Linked DNA regions of Homo sapiens: region 2 is linked to region 1. The links are contacts of gene promoters, found by promoter capture Hi-C in human tissues and cell types (Jung and others, 2019). All regions are on one chromosome and are shown on one strand. Each heading gives the region's core, a stretch centred on a gene start or on the middle of the fragment in contact. The rest is flanking DNA. Distances are from core to core; before and after follow the strand shown.

Region 1 (4,084 bases), core at 1,117-3,616:
CAATATTACAATGGGTTATTTAATAGCAATGCTGTTCACACCGTTAAAACTAAGGAGTAAGTGATGGACCATTAAGTAGGGGAGGCGGCCCACAGGATCATTTACCAGAGTAGCTCAAGGAAGTAAAGTGTGCAAACATACAAACAGCAACTCCAAAGTTGCACAAGGGGTCTCTCGGTCCCCCCTATGCCTCTAAGAACCAAATTTACCAAAGATCCCAAAGGTGTACTTGAAAGAACTCTACAAAGGCTTGAAGCAACCCACGAAAGCTTGACCCAGAGTCTGGGCCTATCCATCAAATCAGACAAGACTAACAAACAAGAGTAACTTTAAAAAAGAAAAATAAAGCCAGGCACGGTGACTCACACCTGGAATCCCAGCACTTTGGGAGGCCGACATGGGTGGACCACAAGGTCAGACCGACCTGGCCAACAAGGTGAAATGCTGTCTCTACTAAAAATACAAAATAAGCTGGGCGTGGTGGCACACGCCAGTAATCCCAGCTACTCGGGAGGCCAAGGCAGGAGAATCGCTTGAACCCAGGAGGCGGAGGTTTGTGGTGAGCCAACATTGCGCCACTGCACTCCAGCCTGGGCAACAAGAGCGAAACTATGTCTCAAAAAAAAAAAACCAAGAAAAAGAAAAACAAAACCACCTTCTCAACTGTAAAGCGTGCTGGACTTGGGGACTGAGCAAGAGTGACGGAGATACTCCAAGCTGGAAGTACTTCTCCCAGGGCCTTTTTAAAGAGCGAGAAGAGGGAGCAGGTGTTTCTACTCACCAAATCTACGTCTTTCCTCTAAAAACAGAGGATATACTCTTGCTTTTTATTTCCACCCAAATCAAGTGAACAGAGTAACTGATGGTAGCTACTTAAAGAATAGTGAGATGAGGAGGGAGTCTGTGAAACTTAACAAAGATTCAGCATTTGCACTCCTTGGTATTTACCCAATGAGTTGAAAACTTATGTCCACACAAAAACCTTGCCAAAACTTGGAAGCAGGCCGGGCGCAGTGGCTCACGCCTGTAATCCCAGCACTTTGGGAGGCTGAGGTGGGCAGATCACCTGAGGTCAGGAGTTCTAGACTAGCCTGGCCAACATGGTGAAACCCTGTCTCTATTAAAAATACAAAAATTAGCCAGGCGTGGTGGCATATGCCTGTAGCCTCAGCTACTCGGGAGGCTGAGGCAGGAGAATCGCTTGAACCTAGGAGGGGGAGATTGCAGTGAGGCGAGATGGCGCCACTCCACTCCAGCCTGGGTAACAAAGTGAGACTCCATCTCGGGGGGTGGGGGGAGAACTTGGAAGCAACCAAGCTCTCCTTCAGTAGGTGAATGGAGATAAACTGTGGTACATCCAGACAGTGGAATATTAATCAGTGCTAAAAGGAAAGAAGCTATCAAACCATGGAAAGGCATGGAGGAACCCCCAAATGCATACTAATACTAAGTGACAGAAACCCATCAAAAAGGCTACACATACTGTGTGATTCCAACTAGATGACAGTATGGAAAAGCAAAATTATGGAGACAGTAAAAAAATCAGTGGTTTCCACGTGGTGTAGGGAAAGGGAGGCAGGAACAGTGGGGCCGAGAAGATCTGTAGGTCAGTGAACTCTGTAATGCGTGACGTTAGGCGTTTGTCCAAACCCACAGAACGTCCAGTACGAGGCGTGAACCCTCCTGTAACGATGGCCTCCGGGTGACGAAGACGCAGCGATGCAGGTTCGCCGACTGTCACAAATACCCACACCTTACGCAGATGCTCACAGGGGAAACTCTGGGAGGGAAGGGGCCTATGGGACCTCTGCCCTCCGCTCCGTTATCCTGAAAACCTGAGTGCCTCAAAAACTAGTCTGTTAAACATTAAGAACTGAAAAAAAAAAAAAAAAAAAAACCTCTAGCTCAGCTTCCTTACAGGCACCGCTCTGGGCCGCGCGTCGGGTTGTGTAGTGACCACTCGCCCTGGACGGTCAGGGGTCCCTGGAGCCCCGCGAGAGGGCACGGGCTCGCGAGAAGGATCTGGATGGCCCGTGCCCTCGTCGCCAGGCCTCGCCCGGCCGCCCTCCAGCCGCCTCCGCCCCGCCCGCGTCCTACCTTTCGAACGCAGCGGCCGGCCGGGCCGGAGCTTGGGCCAGAGCCGGAGCCTGGGCCGCGGGACCAGCGCCGGGGGCCACGTCCTGGCGCTGCACCTCCTCCCTGGCCGCCCCTGCCGGGAAGGCGGGCGGCGCGCCCAGCAGCTCCACATTGGTCACCGTCTTGCCGATGGTGAACCAGTCGTTGATCTGCTCGATGGTGAGCTTCCGCAGCATCCTCAAGGCCCAGGCGTCGGCATCCCCCAACTGCCGGGTCTCCGCGGCGGGAACAGGCGACGGCGGAAGCGCACCCTGGAAGCCCCGCCCCCGCTCGAGGCCTTCCAATCAGAACGCGCCGCGCGCCCTTGTGGGCGGGCTCCGGCCCGGGCGCGTGCTGCCCGCGCTGCCTGGTCCTCGTGCCGCCGGCCCCGCCCCGCCGCGCTAGGCCTGCCGGGAGCCGCCGCCCCGAGCGAGCCCAGGGTGAGCCTTTCTAGGACCTCAGGGGAAGCTTGAGCGCCGCGGCTGGCCCGGGAGTCTGTTTCACGGGAGTTCCGTGGCAACCCCTGTGTGTACAAGAAAATGCCCTCCGGTCACTCCCTGGCCTCTCTATTTAGAGGCTGCTGCCTCGGAGGTTTGTGCGCTTTGAGCGGACCGGGACCCTACATACGTTTCTTGAGCACCTCAGGGTGAGGAGATGGAAGGCAAACCAGAGAAGGGATTTGCGTTCGTGGGTCAGACGTACCAGGACATCCTTGCACCTAATATGGGGGGAGAGGGGCAAGAAGAAGGTCAGGAAGGTCTCGGAGAAAGTAACGCCAGGCAGACCCCTGCAGGATACGGGGGAATGCGCCAGACGGAGGACCACCCAGGGTTATAGGGGAGGGCAGGCGGCCCTGATGGCTGAGGTGAGGATCTGGGAGAAGTTCTTTGCAGCCGGATCATAACTGAATTCATCTTCCTTCCTAAACCGGTGTCTCAGGCGGCGGTGTCAGACTCACAGCTGGACACAAACAGGTGCGGACAGGAGGTCCAGGCGATCACATGGACCAAAGATACAGGCTGAGGTGGTCCCGGCCGAGCTCTAGAAGAGTGAGGGTGGAGAACAGAGCCCTAGCAAACTCCCCAAAAGAAGGAGCCGCGGGAAGAAATCAACAAAGGATGCACGGGAAGGCAGCCACGTGTGCAAGGGAAGGGAGGGTCAGAAGAGAGACATGGCCACCTGCCTGGGGTGTGTCCCCCTCACTGGCCAGGGCAGGATCTATCTGGCCCATGTGGGCTCTCAGGAAAGAGCCATGTGAACAAATACAGAGACGGTATCGAGAGCATGGCTCTAATCAGCAGTGTAAAGCCCAAGCAGTGGCAAATAAGAGGGCGGTTTGAAAACACTGTAGACAGAAATCAGGCAGGTAGGTTGAGCTATTGGTGTCTCAAAAATTGAACCCATAATCATACTAAGCCAGGAGTTCTGGCTCCAAATCCTGGCATAATGAGCTCTAGACCTCATATTAGGACTCTGCCAAATACGACAGGTTCCCAAAAGTGCCTCAACACACTTTGCCAGGAAGAAATAACTTGCTTTTCTTTTTTCTTTTGAGGCAGGGTCTCACTCCTGTCGCTGAGGCTGGAGTGCCGTGCTGCAATCAGGGCTCACTGCAGCCTCAACTTCGGGGGCTCAGGTGATGCTCCCACCACAACCTCCTGCATAGCTGGAACTACAGGCTCACGCCACCACCACACCGGCTAATTTTTTATATTTTTAGTACAGACAGGGGTTTCGCTGTGTTGCCCAGGCCAGTCTCAAGCTCCTGGGCTCAAGCAATCTGTTTGGGAGCCCTTGGCCTCCCAAAGTGTTGAGACTACAAGCATGAACCACCATGCCCAGTCATGTTTTTCAAAAAATAAGAAAAAAGGTAATCATAAAGTAATTGAGACTCATGGTATGTCATTCAGCATTGATTGGAAAATATTGTAACTTCACACTGTATGTGGAGGCTAGGACATAATTCAAA
Region 2 (4,084 bases), core at 1,317-3,816, 850 kb before region 1:
CCGTACCGCGCCTGCCCCCTGGGACTCAGGCATCCCAGGCACATCTGTCCTGGCACACCCAGTTCCTGCCTGGCTGCCTGGCGAGGGTCTGACGGGTAGAGTGTGCGTGGCTCTCACCACCCGCACGTCTGTAGGGGAGTACATCAAGACCTGGCGGCCACGCTACTTCCTCCTCAAGAATGATGGCACCTTCATTGGCTACAAGGAGCGGCCGCAGGATGTGGACCAACGTGAGGCTCCCCTCAACAACTTCTCTGTGGCGCGTAAGTATCCCCTTGGCCTCTCGGGATTCAGATTTGGGGGGTTGGCTGGAGCCCTCTTTGCCCACCAGGCCCCACGATGGGGGTCCCCTGGAGCCTCCAAGTCCTGGGCTGGCAAGCAACAAGCACTGGCTGGGTGGGGGTCTCTGGGCCGAGTCCCGAGGCTGGCTGGGCAGGGGTCTCCGGGCTGAGTCCCAAAGCTGAGGCTGGCTGGGTGGGAGTCTCCAGGCTGAGTCCTAAGGCCGAGGCTGGCTGGGCAGGGGTCTCTGGTCCAAGTCCCGAGGCCGAGGCTGGCTGGGCAGGGGTCTCCGAGCTGAGTCCTGAGGCTGGCTGGGCGGGGGTCTCTGGTCCGAGTCCCGAGGCCGAGGCTGGCTGGGCCGGGGTCTCTGGGCTGAGTCCCGAGGCCGAGGCCGGCTGGGCAGGGGTTTCTGGGCAGAGTCCTGAGGCCGAGGCTGGCTGGGCGGGGGTCTCTGGGCCGAGTCCCAAGGCTGGCTGACCCTGGAGCAGTTCCCTGGTGCCCATGCTCTGGAAGCTGGAGGGTCCGGACAAGTGGCAGCAGAGCCCAGTCTCAGGGTGGACAGCTGCCCCGGGGGCCCCTCCTCCAAGGGGGTTAGATAGAGCCCATCAGGGCCTCTCCTTGGGAAACCCCTTGGGTGAGGGGGCAAGAGTCCATTGGGGTCTCCAGCTCTGAAGCCTCCATCACTCGAGGAAGAGCTCGTGCCTCTCCCTGCACAGGCTCTCAGCCTCCAGACCCCATGGCAGAGCCTTTGCTTCCCCTCTGTGAGGCTGCCTCCTTGCCCATGGAGGGGCAGGTGCAGAAAGGCCAGCGGGGGACCTTGGCCGGAGCATCCCACAGAGATGAGAGACATGTGACGCTCCCTGCTCCGCCCTGCTGTGGCTTTATTCCTTACCTGTAGCGGGGGCAGGTGCGACCCTACCCATGTCAGACGGGAACCCTGGCATGGAGACCCAGGCGCCCTGCTAGGTGGGAGGCTGGGGACACGTGGGCCTCCCAGCATGGTCCCCATTTTCTGTGTCCCTGTCCTGGAGCCCAGCTCTGCCTGTGGCAGCCAGAGACACGGGTTGGGCATGCAGGTGTGACTGAGTGGCTAATTAGGGCCCAGTTGTGGGCCATCTGTATGTGGCAGGGCTGGGTAACTGCAGGCCTCTGGGATCTGTCTCAGGCAGGTCTGTGGTGCAGAGCGAGGTGCCCACCAGGGGCTGGCCTTAGGTTCCATCCCCATGTGCTGCATCGGCCCCTCCCCTCCAAGTAGCTCTGCCCTCCTTTCTTTGAGGCCTGCGGTCCTCCGACTCCCTTGAACTTGCTGGACCCCCAGGTTCTGGTCCAGGGTCTGGGAGGAGGTTAAATGCAGGGAATCCGTCCCCAGGCTGGGCAGGGAAGGACTCCCACCCTTGGTGCCTGCACGTATAAGGGGAGGTGGGGTCAGTCTGGCACCCTGGCTGCTAGGTGGTCTGTGGCCAGCAAACCGTGCCCTGAAGCTTCTAGTTGGGAGGGGCAGAGGCCTTGCCCTGCAAAGCCCCAGGCTGAGGGGCTGGGGTTGGGGTGGGGTTTACCAGGACCTGGTTCCTGTAAGCCGAGGTCTCCTTCCCTGGCTCTTCCAGCCTCAAGCCAGCAGTAGCAGGGCAGCCTGATAGAGTAGGGCACCCCAGGGGTGAGGGGAGACCAGGAAGGCAGACACCCCTGTCTCCTGACAGCCTCGTAACCATGCAGGAGACTCACTGTGACTTGTCCCACACCCTCCCCAGTGTCTCCTCGGTTGGGGCTGGGGGCTTCAGGGATCAGGGAGAGGCTGGGTGCCAGCAGCGTGCCTGGTGGCACCTGGGACAGGGCCTTGCTGGGGGTGGGTGCTGTGGGTGTGCTCGCCAGGCCGAGGCATTGGGAAGGAACGAGGTGGGGAGCTCTCTGGAGAGGCACACGGGTGGGTACCAGCTGGAGGTGTTGCCTGAGCAGCTGGCAAGGCTGGGGCCTTCAGATTAGGCCATAGGTGAGTGGCCTGGAGCGCCTGGCCAAGGAGCAGAGCTGGGCAGGGGCCAGGGGCTGTGCTGGGCCTCTGTCCGGGGCTTTTCTCCGGGGAACGGTTCCGGGGCAGTGGGCTCGAGACTCTGGCCCTGGGGATTGCATACTGGGGCAGATCGGACCATCCAGGAGCGAGTGGGAGGTGGGTGTGCCGGGGCTTCACACCGGTTTCCACTTCTCTGGCCTGTGTTGACACAGGCCACCCTCCCCACCAGGCTGGTCCCGAGCCCCCTCCTGGCCCCCAGGCCTGGAAGACAGCTTCCTTGCTGCCTGGCCAGGCCCCCTTGTGGTTGCCAGGGCCTCGATGCTGGAATGTCAGAGGCCCCCCACTGGCCCCTCAGCCTCCTCCTGCTTTGCACAGGCTGGGCCAGAGCCTGCCACGGAGCCCCAGCGGCTACACACTCCACTCACTCACACCTCTCAGGGCCCCGCACGTTCCCACAGCCCTCAGGGTGTACGTGCTGTAGGTGTGGCTGTGCCCCAGGTATGTGTTCCCCAGGTGTGCTTGTGCCCCAGGTGTGGCTGTGCCCCAGGTGTGCGTGTGCCCCAGGTGTTCGTGTGCCCCAGATGTGGCTAGGTGTCTAGATGTGTTCTAGATGTCTGTGTATTCCAGTGTGGCTGTGTCCCAGGTGTGCGTGTGCCCCAGGTGTGTGCCTCAGGTGTGCGTGTGCCCCAGGTGTGGCTTTGCCTCCAGTGTGTGTGTGCCCCAGATGTATGTGTGCCCCAGGTGTGGCTGTGCCCCAGGTGTGCCTGTGCCCCAGGTGTGGCTGTGCCCCAGGTGTGCCTGTGCCCCAGGTGTGGGTGTGCCCCAGGTGTGGGTGTGCTCCAGGTGGCTGTATTTCCCAGGTACTCAGGGTGAGGTTGGGAAAAAAGCAGGACATTTCTACACTAGGTGGGACAAGCAGGTTTCTGGGGTGCCCCCCTCATGCCAGCCCCTCTGTGGGATCTCCATACCCCTCATCCTCTGAGGCCTGGCGCACGGCGGGGCTCAGAGACTGAAGGAAGGACTGTAGGAGTGGACGATGGTGGGGGTTTGACCTGACGCCGGGCCAGATGCCCTGTGTGGCTGCCTCAGCCTGGAGTAGAGTGTCTGAGCTGGAACAGGGGTCCTAGCCCCACTCTGTGAGGCGAGAAACTGAGGCTTGGAGAGAGGAAGAGATGGGGCTTCCCAGGACCTGGTGGGTGGTATGCAAGGGGAGCTGGCTGGTGCAGCGGGGGCTGTGGTGAGGGCCCTGGGAGGGGCAGGGGGATGCACGCAGACAGAGGCTCTGCCTGCCCGCAGAGTGCCAGCTGATGAAGACGGAGCGGCCCCGGCCCAACACCTTCATCATCCGCTGCCTGCAGTGGACCACTGTCATCGAACGCACCTTCCATGTGGAGACTCCTGAGGAGCGGTACGTGGGCTGTGGCGGCCAGGCCAGGCACTTGGGCAGCCCCAGCGCTTAGGAGGGACACGGGGATGGCGGGGTGCTGGCACCTCTGCCTGTAGCCATCCTCACTCCCCAGTGCTCCCAGGCCCTCCTCAGAGCCCAGTTTGGAAACTGGCCCAGTCCTGCCTGTGGGGTTTGGGTGGGGAAACTGAGGCTGGAGATAAAAACTGGCTAGGGACCGGGTGCAGTGGCTCACGTCTATAATCTCGGCACTTTGGGAGGCCGAGGTGCGCAGATCACTTGAGACCAGGAGTTTGAGACTAGCCTGCCAACATGGTGAAACCCCCGTCTCTACTAAAAATATAAAACTTAGCTGGGTGTGGTGGTGCACACCTGTAATCCCGGCTACTTGGGAG

The links. Contacts are between HindIII fragments. The study calls those that stand out against the background at their distance.
Region 2: a fragment that was not itself captured here is called in contact with the fragment with the promoter of TDRD9 in region 1 in 1 of the 25 tissues and cell types used here (lymphoblastoid cells).

The regions. Positions count from the first base shown.
Region 1 is chr14:103,926,738-103,930,821 of GRCh38, reverse strand. TDRD9 (tudor domain containing 9) reads right to left here and starts at 2,366. Exons shown (of 36, transcript NM_153046.3): 1 at 2,098-2,366. The coding sequence starts at 2,312. The HindIII fragment of the contact is 10,851 bases long and covers 1-4,084 here.
Region 2 is chr14:104,776,267-104,780,350 of GRCh38, reverse strand. AKT1 (AKT serine/threonine kinase 1) reads left to right here. Exons shown (of 15, transcript NM_001382430.1): 4 at 135-263; 5 at 3,581-3,692. Among named protein-coding and RNA genes, the nearest start is that of AKT1, 17 kb to the left of the region's middle. The HindIII fragment of the contact is 9,824 bases long and covers 1-4,084 here.